3 separate regions of the Homo sapiens genome follow, and all the other regions are linked to region 1. The links are contacts of gene promoters, found by promoter capture Hi-C in blood cells and fetal thymus (Javierre and others, 2016). All regions are on one chromosome and are shown on one strand. The core of a region is centred on a gene start or on the middle of the fragment in contact, and the rest is flanking DNA. Distances in the headings are between cores, read along the strand shown. Region 1 holds the start of TMEM18 (transmembrane protein 18). Region 2 holds the start of RNASEH1 (ribonuclease H1). Region 3 overlaps ADI1 (acireductone dioxygenase 1).

The links. The method cuts DNA at HindIII sites, captures the fragments that hold promoters and counts their contacts. A CHiCAGO score of 5 or more calls a contact.
Region 2: a contact is called between the fragment with the promoter of RNASEH1 here and the fragment with the promoter of TMEM18 in region 1, in 1 of 17 cell types (monocytes). The highest score is 8.9, in monocytes.
Region 3: a contact is called between a fragment that was not itself captured here and the fragment with the promoter of TMEM18 in region 1, in 1 of 17 cell types (monocytes). The highest score is 5.6, in monocytes.

Annotation. Positions count from the first base shown.
Region 1 is chr2:675,588-678,655 of GRCh38, forward strand. It overlaps TMEM18 (transmembrane protein 18), which reads right to left and starts at 1,819. Exons shown (of 5, transcript NM_152834.4): 1 at 1,702-1,819; 2 at 1-43. The coding sequence starts at 1,758. It overlaps TMEM18-DT (TMEM18 divergent transcript), which reads left to right and starts at 1,785. Exons shown (of 3, transcript NR_183417.1): 1 at 1,785-1,886. RefSeq lists enhancers at 1,094-1,859, 1,762-1,861, 1,892-1,961 and a silencer at 1,352-1,601. The HindIII fragment of the contact is 12,744 bases long and covers 1-3,068 here.
Region 2 is chr2:3,556,768-3,559,835 of GRCh38, forward strand. It overlaps RNASEH1 (ribonuclease H1), which reads right to left and starts at 1,566. Exons shown (of 8, transcript NM_002936.6): 1 at 1,366-1,566; 2 at 22-137. The coding sequence starts at 1,493. It overlaps RNASEH1-DT (RNASEH1 divergent transcript), which reads left to right and starts at 1,619. Exons shown (of 3, transcript NR_038429.1): 1 at 1,619-2,231; 2 at 2,681-2,962. RefSeq lists silencers at 1,228-1,327, 1,698-2,017 and an enhancer at 1,418-1,667. The HindIII fragment of the contact is 22,605 bases long and covers 1-3,068 here.
Region 3 is chr2:3,510,728-3,513,795 of GRCh38, forward strand. All of the region lies in intron 2 of ADI1 (acireductone dioxygenase 1), which reads right to left. Among named protein-coding and RNA genes, the nearest start is that of ADI1, 7.3 kb to the right of the region's middle. The HindIII fragment of the contact is 2,134 bases long and covers 752-2,885 here.

The sequences.
Region 1 (3,068 bases), core at 569-3,068:
AGGTGGCCAGCCCCATGAGCCAGGGCTCAGTCCAGTCCGTCTGCTGTAGGAACACACCAGCAGACACTCACTGTCCTGCCACTCAAGGCCGGGTTCACGGCCCACCCACAGCCTTCTCCCAGCGCAGGAGGCAGGGGCCTCTCACTCCTGAGTCCTCCTGGGCTACTCACCAAGTATCCAGAGAGCATTGCCAGGCCTCAGAGAAACATGGGGACAGGAAAGGGAGAAGGAACCAGGAGGATGGAAACAGGATTCTCCCCTCAGTGCAACTATAATTCATGGAATTCAAAGTTCAAGCACACAGAACTGAAGGCATCTCTGATGTGCTCCTTTCGTTTGTGGAACAGAATCATGTTTTTAAGGTGGGTATAATTAAAGGAATTACCATCCTTTACGATGATAATTGGTTATGATAATTGGTGACGACAAGGAAATTAAGACGATTGCTCAAAGAGATGCACTTGGCTCAGCCCCAAAGGTAAAACATGAATCATCATTTCAGACTCCTTAGTCAGCACTGAAGACCTCAGGGAATCTTGAGCCATCGCCACGTGCAAGACTTGATTTTCTCCAACCTCTCTGCAATACACTGAACTCTCCAGACAGTGCCGCACTCCGCCGCCTCCTGGACTCCCCGGGACCCTGCTGTACCTGGGGACAGTGTCTGGCTCAGGGACCTGAAGTAGCCAGGCTCAGATCCACTGCTGCTCAGTCCCCACCTGATGCTCAGATGCCAATCCCAGCAGTCCTCAACCCTCCCCATCCCCTCCTTGAGCGCCCTCCTGCAGAAGACAAGCCCTGCCCTCCAAGCTGCAGCCCCGCCCTGCCCTCCAAGCTGCAGCCCCGCCCTGCCCTCCAAGCTGCAGCCCGGCACAGCCCTCCAGAACTCCTGTGTCACTACTCTCTGCTGGGGACCGCAGCGGCTTCTCCAGAGCCGCGCCATGACATAAGGACACAAGCGCATCTACTCCCATCAATGCACCCACCAGAAGACCAGAGGCACGGAGGTGAGGGGAGCACGGCTTTCTGCCCAGACCCCATCGAGTGCCCATGTCACCCCTTGGCGGCCACGTGGGGCGTGGGCTCCCCTGGGATCTGTCAGACGAACCCGGCACGGCGCACGCCCCGCCCACACTGGGCAGCGTTCCTCCGTGCCACCCCACACGATCAGGCTCCACCACGCACGCCCCGCCGCACTGCCAGAATCCGCCCACATGGCCCAAGCCCCGCCCGCAAGACGCTGGACTGGCCGGCGTGCACCTCCCACACGAACAAAGCCCTACCCCTCGCGCTCCGCCCACACAACTCAGCCACGCCCGCACGGTGCAGGACGCCAGCCCAGCCCAAGCCCGGGCCACAGAGCGCCGGAGCCAGCTCACTGCGCACGCTCCTCCACAAGGCCCCGCCCGGCCCCGCCCCTCCCCGCCCAACGGCCCAGGACCCCGCCTAGCGCTCGCGCCCCGACGCCCGGCCCCGGCCCCCTCCCACAGGGCCCAGGACCCCGCCCACAGCGCGCGCCCCCGACGCCGGCCCCGAGCCACTCCCACAGGTCTCAGGACCCTGCCCAGCGCGCGCGCTCCGCCACAAGGCCCCGCCCACGGCCGGGGCCTTCTTGGCCACAGGCCGGGTGCTCTGTGGGGCCTACCCTACGCCTCTCCGCCGTCCTCCCCCGAACTGGTGGTTACGCGGGCCGCGAGTTACCGTGAGCACGGCTGGGATGCTGACGGGGAAAGAGCTGACAGAGAAGGCGGACGGCATGGTGTTGGGAAGCCCGCTCTCACAGCAACCGCCGAACCCGGCCTGGCCAGAATCCACAGAGGAGGGCGCCAAATCCTCTCTCGTGAGATCTGCCCTTCTCACGAAACTTGCGCTTGCTTCCTCTCGCGGTAATTTCATGGCATTGCTAGGTCCAGATATCGCGATATTTCCTGGTGGTCGCTGTAATACGGAAAACTTACTACGCTGCTGTGGGACTTGTGCTCGCTCCGCCAGGAGGCCGAGGGCGTCTTTAGTTCGTTAACAGAGGAGCAGGCGGAGGCGGGTGGAATTTAGGAGGTTTGTTTCAAAGGCTCAGGGCGCTGTACCGCCACGCCAGCCCTGTCCCACCTGGGACTCCCTAGAAGGGTCAGAGCATCAATGAGGACGGTGTCCGCCCCGAGACCCTGCAGGAGCCGGGGACATTGCCCACTCCTCGGACCCTGCAGGACTTGGGAAGGTGTCTGCTCTCGCGACCCTAAGGGCAGTGCACTCTTAGTCTGGGTCAGCTTAGGGTTATCTGTCTTCACTTTGGAGATTTACCAGATGTTCTTACGCTTCACTTCGTTGTTCAACGACAGATACAAAAATATAAAGTTAATTTTCTTCCAGCGAATTTTTTCCCTTTATTTTAACATCTATACCCCAACTTTGACATTTTCAAATTAAACATTCTGTTATTTTAACATCATGAATTATTAAGTGTATATACTTTAATTGCATATGTTAGCTCTTGAACTAGTTTAATGTTTCTAAAAATAGTTCTAGTGGTGGACTTTTTTTTTTTTTTAATAGCTTTAACCCCTCCCAGATCTTTCTTAAAATCTTTCCACAGTGTGGTCATTTCTGCTTATGCTACTTAACATGCATTCTCTCATTTCAGTGTAGAAGGTCATGGTTTCTTCTTATGGGAAAACATTTCTTTCATTGATATTTTTCTCTATTCTTCCTGTATTCAACTCCAGGAACATCCCGTTAGGTAGATAGTGCATCTTCCTCTCTTTTGTGTTTCTCAACCTTCCTCTCAAAACATCACGACTGTTGTTGCTGAGTTTGGGAAATCTCGGGCTTGGCTTTCCTGGTTTTTTTTTTTTTTTTTTAAGACGATGTCTCGCTCTGTCGCCCAGGCTGGAGCACAATGGTGGGACCTCGGCTCACTGCAACCTCCGCCTCCTGGGTTCAAGCTATTCTCCTGCCTCAGCCTCCCGAGTAGCTGGGATTACAGGTGTTCGCCACCTCACCTGGCTAATTTTTTTTGTATTTTTAGTAGAGACGGGGTTTCACCATGTTGGCCAGGCTAGTTTTGAACTCCT
Region 2 (3,068 bases), core at 316-2,815, 2.9 Mb after region 1:
ACTGATATGAGAGGTGACTACCTTCTGAAACTTCCGGGCTTGCAGATTTCCTGACAAAGGCCCAGGCCTCATCCTCTGTGGCAAACTTCTTAAATCTGGCAGCAGGAAACCGGTCCACCTGTGCTCTGCACTCATTCCTGGAAAAGATGTGCAATGTTATTTCCTTCTTCCTTCTCTAACTTATCCCCTTTTTTATTGAGATTCTTAAGGTTGGAAATACAGTTGTCCCTTGGTATCTGAGGGAGACTGATTCCAGGAAGTCCTCCACCCCATCACAGATACCAACATCAGAGGATGCTTAAGTCCTTTGCATAAAATGGTGTATTTGCAAATAACCCACACACATCTTCTTGCATGCTTTAAATCATCTCTAGTTTATAATACCTAATACAATCTATATAGTTGTATTGTCTTTTTATGCGTATTTTAAAACTGTATTCTATTTTAATTTTTTCCAAATATTTTTGATCTATGGTTAGCTGAAACTGAGGATGCAAACTGGATATAGAGGACCAATTTTTGCGTGAAAAGGGCAGAGTCGCACCTTATAGTTTTATCCTGCACGTCAGACTCTACACCTGTGTTCTACTGTATGCCAGCCAGCCAGCACACCAGCACCATAAGGCTTTCGTCAAACTCAAAGCATAACAAAATACTGCGGTCTTTGAAAAAAATATTAACCATTTCTTTACAACAAAAAGGTCAACTTCTGAGATGCTTCTTCCTCAATACTGTAGCTGCCGTGCATGGGGAAACACAGGTAACGAACTTTGGTATCTTGTAGTGGGAAGAGTTCTGGTGGTACAGTCAGAACAGCTGGGCTCAAGTCCTTTCTCTGTCAGTTACATGCCCTGGGAACTTCCTGACCCCAAGAACTATACCTGAAAGTGAGAATAATCCCTCTCACCTCCAAGGGTTGTTACAAGGATCCAACTGCAAATACTGGCTTATTAGAATTTGCCTTTTTTAAAAGGGAAGATTAGGTACTGAGTTCCAATCCCAATTTAGCTGGTACGGAAAGTCTTCTGGTAACGGGGGTTCGTTCTGATTACGTGTCACTTTTTGTTGCACTTTAACTGCAACAAAGATGGAGGATTAAACACAGGGTTTATTAGGCCACCCCTAACCTTTACGCGACGTTTCTGATATTTCAAACAAGTCTTCGGTGCGTTCCAGTCCCAGGCCATGAGCCTCCTGGAACCCCGCCGGCCGAGCAGGAAAACGAGGCGGTCCCCCGACCACCCACAGCCACAGCGCGCGGCACAGACTCGGACCGCCAGGCTCCCGCCGCCGGGGTTAGCCGGGCTCCGGCCTCCCTCGACCCCGATGCCGGCAGGGAGGCGCCTCGGCGGGCGGGCCACTCACCAGGTCAGAAAGACCCCGGTCTTGCGGCCCCTCCTCACGGCATAGAACATCCCGAACCCGCGAGAGCCGCGGCGGCAGGGCAAGGCGGCCAAGGCGACTCTGTGGGCCAGGAACAGAAGCCAGCTCATCGCTCACTCCCGGCACCGGGAAGCATTTCGACTCCCGGCCCAGCGTGGGCGCGAGCCGCCGGCGCTCAACACCGCACTTCCGTCACCGGCGCGGGAAGATGACGCACGTCTGGGCGGAGTCCTGATGAGGGCCGGGGCCTAGGGAGGGGCGGTGTCGTAGGGCGGAGCCCGGAGCTCGGCCCCTGACGAGCCCGAACTCGTCAACTTCCTGTCGGTACTTGAAGAAGCGGAGCCAGGGCTGAGATCCCGAAGGCGGGCGAGGTCTGGGATGGGGCGGGGCCTATGGGAGCGGGGCTGAAGCCCTGGGCCCGGCAGAGGAAGGTCGAGATGGACCATGTTGGGCCCCTTCTCTCCCCGCCCCCAGGCCGCAGTTCGGGGGCCACGCCCCGGCGTGCTCGGGTCACCGCGGGAAGCCCTTGAACCCCCTGGCGCCCGGCACCCACGTGCGGTAACCGCGGCTCCTCGAGAGCTCCAGGGATGCGGATCTACAGTAAGGGCTGTGGCCAGATGAATGAATGCACATTTTTTAGTGGGCAGAAAGATGTTAGAATTCATGAATTAGAATAAGCACAAAGGAGGGCGAGAGGGGAGGCCGTGGAAGCCGCATTCCTCCCCTTGCCTTGGGCGCCCACCCCCGAAGGGGCGCGTCCCCTCCCTGCTCCACTGCACGTGGGTGTTTAACCAGGGGATATCCAGTGCCTCAAGCACCACGACCCGGGAGAAAACTGAGTTGAGAAGGTAACTTTTAGAATTCTCCCCATTTGACCTTTTGCTCTGTAAGCAAATCAAGTAATTTTAAAAGTGTTCATGGGTTGGAGGGGCGTGGTGGCTTACGCCTGTAATCTCAGCACTTTGGGAGGCCAAGGCGGGTGGATCACCAGGTCAGGAGATCGAGACCATCCTGGCCAATATGATGAAACCCTGTCTCTACTAAAAATACAAAAATTAGCCGGGCGTGGTCGCCTGCGCCTGTAATCCCAGCTACTCAGGAGGCTGAAGCAGGAGAGGCGCTCGAACTCGAGAGGTGGAGGTTGCATCTGGGCGACAGAGCGTGATTCCGTCTCAAAAAAAAAAAAAAAGTCTCCATTGGCAAACATTGTTATTCGAATTATTTTTAAACCACTTTTCTTTAATTTTCTTAAGGTCTTCTAACAAGCCTTTTGCACACCTGCCATGTATTTTGTCAGGCCTTGGGGATGAAGGTGAGAAATTCGAGAATCCCCGGAGATAACACATCAGCAAATAGTGCGCAGGCAGAACAAGCTGTTGGAGGTGAGAGACACAGAGCAGAGAAGCACCCGCACCTGGAGAGTCAGGAGGGCCTCACATCAGAACGCCTGAGCAAATACAGTTTTGAAGGATACTAATTTTTTAAAAAGTTCATTCACATGAGTTAGACAAAGAGAAAGAAGCAGGACATTCTAGGAAGAAGGAACGGCCCAGGCAAAAGCGACGCGTACATTGGCGTGGTAAGTTGTGTTCCTCTGTGAAATCGAAGAACATCTTTTTTTTTTTTTTTTTTTTTTTTTAAACAGAGTCTTGCTGTGTCGCCCAGGCTGGAGTGCAGTGGCACGA
Region 3 (3,068 bases), core at 569-3,068, 2.8 Mb after region 1:
TCATTCAAGAAAAAATGGGTTACCTGAATAGCCCTACATCTAGTAAAGAAGTTGAACTCACAGTTAAAAACCTTCCCACAAAGAAAACTACAAGGCCAGATGGCTTCACTGGTGAATCTCCAAACATAAGGAAAGAATAATACTATCTACACATACTCTTCCAAGAAACTGAACAGGAGGGACTACTTTCCAGCTCATTTTATGAGATCAGAATTACTCTGATATGAAATCCAAACTAAAACATTGATATAGTTTGGCAATATGTCCCCAACCAAATCTCATGTTAAATCGTAATTCTCAGTGTTGGAGATGGGGCCTGGTGGGAGGTGACTGGATCACGGGAATGGATTTCTCATGAATGGTTCAGCGCCACTCCCTTGGTGCTGTCTTCACCACAGTGAGTGACTTCTCACAAGATCTGGCTATTTAAAACTGGGTGGCACTTCATTCTCTCTCTTGTTCCCATTCCTGTTATGTGAGATGCCTGCTCCCACTTTGCCTTCTGCCATGACTGTAAGCTTCCTGAGGCCTCTCTAGAAGCAGATGGTGGTGCCAGGAAGCAGATGTTTCCTGTACAGCCTGAAGAACTGAGATGCAATTAAACCTTTTTCTTATAATTTACTTCTAAATTACACAGTAACTTCTTGTGAGATCTGGTCATTTAAAACAGTGTGGCACCTTGCTCTCTCTTTCATTCCCACTCCTGTTATGTAAGATGCCTGCTCCCTCTTTGCCTTCTGCCATGACTGTAAGCTTCCTGAGGCCTCCCCAGAAGCAGATGGTGGTGACAGGAAGCACATGCTTCCTGTAGAGCCTGCAGATTATAAATTTTCTTATAAATTACACAGTCTCAGATATTTCTTTATAGCAATGCAAGAACAACCTAATACAGAAAAAATGGTACCAAGGAGTGGGGCATTGCTATAAAGATACCTGAAAATATGGAAGCAGCTTTGGAATTGAGTAACACGCAGAGACTAGAAGTGTGTAGAAGGCTCAGAAGGAGACAGGAAGATGAGGGAAAGTTTGGAACTTTTTAGAGACTGGTTAACTCATTGTGACCAAAATGCTGATAGTCATACAGACAATAAAGTCCAGGCTAATGAGGTCTCAGATGGAAATGAGGAATTTATCGGGAACTGGAACAAACATCACACGTTTGCCTCAGCAAAGAACTTGGCTGCATTCTGTACATGCCCTAGGGATCTGCGGAAGTTTGAACTTGAGAGTGATGCCTAGGGTATATGGTAGAAGAAATTTCTAAGCACCAAAGTGTTCAAGATGTTTCCTGCCTGTTTCTAACAGCCTATGCGCAGATGCAAGGGCAAAGGAATGACCTGAAGTTGGAACTTATATTTAAAAGGGAAGCAGAGCAGAAAAGTTTGGAAAATTTGCAACTTGGCCACATGGCAAAGAAAGAAAAAGTTTTTGAGAGAGGATTTCAAGCAGGCTTGTAGAGCAACGACTTCCTAGAGAAATTCACATAACTACAAAGAAGCCAAGGGCTGACAGCCAAGACAATGGGGAAAAAACCTCAAAGGCATTTCAGAGACCTCTTCCTAGAGAAATCAGCATAACTTCAAACACAGCCAAGGCAATGGGGAAAAAACCTCAGAGGCATTTCAGAGACCTTTCAGCAGCCCCTCCCATCACAGAGCCAGAGGTCTAAAAGGAGAGAATGGTTTCATGGGTCAGGCCCAGAGCCCCTCTGCCCTACAGAGCCTCAGGACACTGCTCCCTGCATCCCAGCTGCTCGGGTTCTGCTAGGGTTCTGGCCTCAGATCAAAAGGGCCCAGGTACAGCTTGGGCCACAGCTCCAGAGGGTGCAAGCCATGAGCCTTTGTGGCTTCCATGTGTTATTAAGCCTGTGAGTGCACAGAGTGCAAGGGTTGAGGCTTGGGATTCTCCACCTAGATTTCAGAGAATGTATGGAAAAGCCTGGGTGTCTAGGCAGAAGTCTGTTGCAGGGTAGAAACCCTCATGGAGAACCTCTACTATGACAGTGCAGAGGGGAAATGTGGGATTGAAGCCCCCTCACAAAGTCCCCACTGGGGCACTGCCTAGGAGCTGTGGGAAGAGAACCACCATCCTGCAGACCCAAGAATGATAGATTCACTGGCAGCTTGCACCCTGCACCTGCAAAAGCTATAGGCACTCAAAGCCATCCCATGAGAGCAACCTCAGGAGCCCCTGCAAAGCCACAGGGACAGAGCTGCCTAAGGCCTTGGGAGCCCATTCCTTGCACCAGTGTGCCCTAGATGTGGGACATGGAGTCAAAGGGTATTATTTTGGAGCTTTAAGATTTAGTGGCTGCCCTGCTGAGTTTTGAACTTTCATGGGTCCTGTAGCTCCTTTCTTTTGACCAATTTCCCCCTTTTGGAATGAGAATATTTACCTAATGCCTTTACCCGCTTTGTATCTTGGGAGTAACTAACTTGTTTTGATTTTGCAGGCTCATAGGTAAAAGGAGATGAGTATCAGATGAGACTTTGGACTTGAACTTGGGACTTTTAAGTTAATGCTAGAGGAAGTTAAGACTTTGGGGGACTATTGGGAAGAGATTATTGTATTTTGAAATTCAAGAAGGGCATGAGATTTGGGAGGGGCCGGGGCAGAATAATACAGTTTAGATTTGTGTCTCCACCCAAATTTCATATTGAAATGTAATCCCCAGTATTGAAAGTGGGACCTGGTGGGAGGTGACTGGATCATGAGGGTGGATTTCTCATGAATAGCTTAGCACTATCTTCTTGGTGCTATCCTCACTACAGTGAGTAACTTCTTGTGAGATCTGGTCATTTAAAACAGTGTGGCACCTTGCTCTCTCTTTCATTCCCACTCCTGTTATGTGAGAAGCCTGCTCCCTCTTTGCCTTCTGCCATGTAAGCTTCCTGAGGCCTCCCCAGAAGCAGATGGTGGTGACAGGAAGCACATGCTTCCTGTAGAGCCTGCAGAACTGTGGGCCAATTAAATCTCTTTTCTTATAAATTACACAGTTTCAGGTATTTATTTATAGCAAAGCAAGAATGGCCTCATACAGACATTAAAAGAAAAAAGAAAGAAAATAT